Linked DNA regions of Homo sapiens: region 1 is linked to region 2. The links are contacts of gene promoters, found by promoter capture Hi-C in blood cells and fetal thymus (Javierre and others, 2016). All regions are on one chromosome and are shown on one strand. Each heading gives the region's core, a stretch centred on a gene start or on the middle of the fragment in contact. The rest is flanking DNA. Distances are from core to core; before and after follow the strand shown.

Evidence for each region. The method cuts DNA at HindIII sites, captures the fragments that hold promoters and counts their contacts. A CHiCAGO score of 5 or more calls a contact.
Region 1: a fragment that was not itself captured here is called in contact with the fragment with the promoter of MTUS2-AS1 in region 2 in 3 of 17 cell types (M1 macrophages, endothelial precursors and M0 macrophages); the score reaches 5.5 in M1 macrophages.

What each region holds. Positions count from the first base shown.
Region 1 is chr13:29,728,849-29,731,548 of GRCh38, reverse strand. No RefSeq gene overlaps it. Among named protein-coding and RNA genes, the nearest start is that of UBL3, 120 kb to the left of the region's middle. The HindIII fragment of the contact is 6,285 bases long and covers 1-2,700 here.
Region 2 is chr13:29,486,475-29,489,174 of GRCh38, reverse strand. It overlaps MTUS2-AS1 (MTUS2 antisense RNA 1), which reads left to right and starts at 1,425. Exons shown (of 3, transcript NR_046378.1): 1 at 1,425-1,675. MTUS2 (microtubule associated scaffold protein 2) reads right to left here. Exons shown (of 16, transcript NM_001033602.4): 11 at 1,170-1,275. The HindIII fragment of the contact is 24,751 bases long and covers 1-2,700 here.

The DNA of each region.
Region 1 (2,700 bases), core at 13-2,512, 240 kb before region 2:
CCCCTCATCTTCCCATGCCCTGTCACCAAAACCCAAACATGATGGGAAAGAAGAAGGGTTTCCTTTTTGCTCATATGCTTGCTATGCCTCCCAACAATACAATATATTCCTCAACTTTCCCCAAGTCCCACGTCCCATCACATCGGGCAGTTCCAAGCCATGGGAGTCTGGGCAGACACAGGAGAATGCATGCTTTTTTCTCTCGAAGCCTTCATGGGAAATTCCCAGAATTCTATGGCATAAAGCTGTCTATTTTGTTCACTCTCTATTTCCGGAGCCTACGCAGTACCTGGTACGTGGTAGACACTCAATAGCATTTCTTGAAGGAATAAATGGAGGACTAAATGAAGTTTTCCAGAGGAGACACTCACATGCCAAACATCCTATGTCCATGTCCAGATGCTTCCATTTACCTCTGAAGAAATTTCTCCTGTTTGTTTTTGTATCTTTCTTCCTTGAAGTGGAAAAAAAGTCAAAATGGAGAAATGACATTTTTGTCAAATCATGAGGCATGAAAGTAAAAGGACCAGAGTGTGGCAAATCTGGGAAGGTGACGACGTTTGATGCCTGACTCCCCTGCCAGGGTCTCATCCGCAGTGCCTGCCTCCTGACCACCTCTCCATTTCTCTTTCCTCCTGCCTGTCTCTTGCTTCCCCATCCCACTCCCCTGATCTCCAGGGCTCAGCTGTCCATTCAGCTGCCTAAAATGTAGCTCATGAGGACTGAGCCCTCCTAGAATTATTTGAATTTAGTGGAAGATTCTTGAAGAGCAGCCCACATGAGGGGTAACATTTCCAGAGGGGAGGAGCAGGTGACTTAGGAAGACTTAATTCTCCCACCTCAAATTATCCCAGAGGCAGCTATGTATTCCAGCCATTCAGAAGGCTCTATCCACCCATCGATCATGTTGATGAATAAAATTGGATTAGGACCCAATGGATTCTCATATCACCAGCCAGTTAAACTCCCCTTGGCAGATGAACATCTTTTCCCTATTTGCAGCAAAGCCTCAAAGACAGCCTGGCATCAAACCACCAGAATATTGCAAACTTCAATATTGCAAGATTGTCTTCAATGAGGAACTACCATCCATTCACCCATCTATTCCATTCATTCATTCGCTAAAGACCAGTGGTGAAAAAGAGAACTACATGTCAGTCCTCCAGCAGCTTACAGAATCAGGGAGAGAGAGAGATAGTAACCAACTAACCCAAGAAGTGAAAGAAACACCTGAGATAAAGGGAGGCAGGATATGGGGGTTCATCCTGCAGGAACCACAGAAGCTGGGTAGGTCGAGAGGTGTCTACCAGAGGAAGGAAGAGAAGGAGTTAAGGGTGGAGAAAAGGGAGAGGAGATTCCATGAGGAGAGAGCATGGCTTATTTGAGGTACAGAAAGCAGGCTGCAGTGGCTGCAGTGCAAATATCCAGGTGGACAGAAAAGAAAAAACCAGACCATTTGAGCTCTTCGGGGCTATATTGAATATTTTTATCTTAAGCGCAATAGAAAGCCATGGGCCATTTCAAGTGGGAGAGGTGCAGTGATGCTGGTGCACACTGAGATGTTTTAAAGCTATTCACACATGACTGGGCTTTTCTTCTTTTGCACTCGTAAGTCAGAGCATCTCTTGCTGGGGTGAATTAAGACGGTGCTTTCTTGGAAAGCAAAGACAGAGCCAGGGTCAATGTTCCACCATCGACTTCCACTTCAGAGATCATAGAAATAACCAAAGCTCTGATTTTTAAGAGCAGAGCTTTTAGTGACTCAAAAGGCAGAGCCCTGAAAAGAGCAGGGCAACAAAGTTCATTCAAAGGTGAGTAGACAGTGATCAGCTGGAGTAAATGCAGGAGGAGGGGAGTGGACTAAGAGGAGAAGAACAGAGGCCAGAGGGCCTTCTTGACCTGTGGGAACCACATCAAGAGCAAAGAAGAGCCTGTGTGGAGAGACTGCTCACCCTCTGCCCCCAAAAACATCAGGGAGTCTGTGGGGACCCAGCCAGGCTTCCCTAACCCAGCCACAGACTGCCCATATCTGGGGGAAAGCATGTGGCTTGTCAGTGGCCTGGGCTGAGGGGCCATCTTCCCAATTGCCTGCACTTTGCTGTCACTAACCCAGCAGAGGCAACACCCCTTTTTGTTCAGTCCATCCAAACTATCCTCTCAATTAAATTGCTGATGACCTATGTACATTCCCTTCCCAGAGAGAAAATAGTAACAAGGACATACCCAAATGGGCTAGTGATGCTTTAGATGGAAGAGATCCCTCATTTCTGTATGTGGATGAGAATAACAGAACACCCTGGGCTAAGATAGCATTCAGACCCATTCCTGCTATTAATGTAATTCCTTTCCAAGGTCACCCTTGCTGCTGGATGGAGAGCTAAGTGCCACGTGGCCAGAGCAAAGGCTGTGAGAACAGGCAGGAGGTCATTGCAGTGGCCCAGAGAAAAAGTGGCAGTAGCTTGGCTCAGATGGTGGTGGCACTGAGGATGAAGCGAAGGACGGGATTTTAAGATGTTATTGAGATCCACAGATAGGGTTTAATGAAGGAGCAGAGGAGGAGAGTCAGATAATTGTATTACTTAGGTCTCTCCTATAATGCTGAATAACAACTCCAAATTCTCAGTGGCTTACAATAATCATTTATTTTTCTTGTTAATAGTTCTGCAGGTTGGCTGGGGCATTTCTGCTTCAGGTTGCAAG
Region 2 (2,700 bases), core at 176-2,675:
CTCAACCTCCCGTGTAGCCAGCCCACCGCGCCTGGCTAATTTTTGTATTTTTGGTAGAGACGGGGTTTTGCCATGTTTGCCAGGCTGGTCTTGAACTCCTGACCTCAGGTGATCCACCTGCCTCAGCCTCCCAAAGTGCTGGGATTACGGGTGTGAGCCACGGCTCCCGGCCTTTAATACACACTTTAACAACCAGCTGACTGGGAGGGAAAAGTAAAGCGAGAGAAAGTTGAAAAATAAACTGTACATATTAATGTAAATGCATGTGAAAGTGTAAAATGCTGCCTCTTTCACAAAGGAAAATCTCACTGGAACTTAGTAATGATGCTGTTATGACCCACGTAAAACCCAAAGATAATTCAAAGTTACAAAAATGTAGAAAGAAAGATCTGGAGACTTAACGCACACCCACGGTGAATGTGGTCTATGAGTGTAAGCTCTGGATACCCCGATCCAACCAGATGCTGCAGTGGCCCGGAGAACATCATAAATATGAAGAAAGTGTATCCATGCCGGGGCTTCCATTTGTTTTTATAAGGCAATAAACATCATAAAGCCTAGCCGGGTGTGGTAGTGGGCACCTGTAATCCCAGCTACTCGGGCTGGAGGCTCCAGCTGGGGCTGGAGAATCGCTTGAACCCAGGAGGCAGAAGTTTCAGTGAGCTGAGATCGCACCACTGCACTCCAGCCTGGGCAACAAAGTGAGACTCTGTCTCAAAAAAAAAAAAAAAAAAAAAGAGGAAAAAAAAAAGTGCACGATTTCCATGCCTGCTTTAGACAGTGGCCCTCAAGTGTGGCTACACATTAGAATCCCCTAAGGAGTCTTAAGAAATCTTGATGTTTACACTGCACTATGGACCAAGGACATCAGAATCCCTGGGGTGGGACTGAGGCTGGCATTGGTCTTTTGTTACCGCTCCCCAGGGGACGGGGAATTCCAGTATTCATCAAGGTTGAGGATAACTGCATTGGAGGAAAGAAGCAGCTAACTACCTGGATCCTTAATTCCTATCTCTTCTTTTCCCAGGAGCCAACAGGAAAAAATGCACCAGGAGGGAAAGACAGGAAAGGAGGGACAAGAGAGGAAGGGGGGCTCCACACATCTGCAGCAGGAAAGGCTCGGATTGCACCACCCACCCCTGCCTGCTGCACACGAGGCTGGGAGCTACCTTGGACTTTGTGGTCGTGGTCATCCTGCAGGATTGTGATGGCAACTGTGTGGTTATTTTCCATCTCTAGGAGAGCAGCATCATGGCTGGCGGTGAGATCTTCCACCTGGAGGAGAGTCGCAGTTACTGGTTAGACAGAGAGCTGCTTGGAGAACAGAAGTGGAATTCCGTGAGTGGAAAAGGTCCGTGACCCAAAACATCAATGACAAGTCACAGCCTTGTGCCGAAGCAGGAGAGCTGGACTTTGGTGGTGATGTGGCAGCCCTCGGAATCACGGGGAGGTCACTGCCACAACCTGGCTCTTTGTAGGGGGGTCCAACTCCAGGCAGGGGATCACTGCCTGAGGTACCTCTTTAGAGTCCTGAGTGTGGCTCCTGGACCATCCCCTTCCCACTGCTTGTCCACGCGCTTGCACCGCTATGAGCGATGACGGCAAAGGAAAAGAAAAGCGTCCTCCCTACGAGGTGGTCTGTTTCCCAGTGGCAGGGGGAGCTACGGTACACAAGGTAAGTGGAGGGAACGAATACTTATTAGGCTGTCCGAGATAGGCTACTCTACTTAACCCTCAGAGCCACCTTATGAAGTATATCTTTTTATGCCCAATTGACAGATGTGGAAACTGAGGCTAAGAGAAATATGAAACGTTTTGCCCAAGGGCTAATAAATGGCAGAGCTAACAGTGAGACCCAGGTCTGTCTGACTCCAAAGGCGAGGCTCTTTCTAATGCACTGTTGTTTTGTGTTCACCTCCCCCAAGCAAGACTAGCAACGAACACCTTAGGATTCTCTCGCCAATACCAGGTGAGGCTGGCAGGTCTGTGTGTCTGTTTTTAAACATAAGGTTGCCCACCAGATTATAACTTGGACCTTCTGCTCAGGCAATGTGGTGCTCCTGGGAAGGGCTGCTGCCTCCCAGCTGCAGGAACACGTCTAGCAGTTTAATCGCAAGTAGTGCAGCCAGTCCAGTCCAGGATTCTTCATTTTCATGTTTCCTGACCCCCTCCCCTACCCCTCACCTGCCTGCCTACCAGGTTTACTGTTTTTGTTATTGTCATTGTGGCTGTTGTTTTAACTTCAAATGTATGACTTGCAGGAGTAATTGTCTAAAACGACCTCTCCCTATGATTGCAAATCTCTCCTGGATGCACTACAACGGTGTTTATCCAAATTCTCTGTCAGTGATCCACTGTAAAAATCACCATTGTACACAATATCACAGTGCACACACCCACACACAACCATACCCAAAACCAAAGTTTCACAAAAACAAAACTTCCCCTTCCATTTGGAAAAATCTGGTTTAAAAATGTTTCCTCTATTTTACTTTGTTTTACAAAACGCTAGTTAGAGGCCACTACATTTATTTCACAAGCTAATAATGCATCAAAACTTGGCATTTGAAAACCACTGAACTAGAAAATGTGCACTGGTCTTGAAGCTCCTTGGTGGCCCAGTTAAGAAGACATTGCTTCTAGCTGGTCATATTCAGCCACCTCTGGGCTCCCACATTTCTCTGGGGGAGAATTCACAGG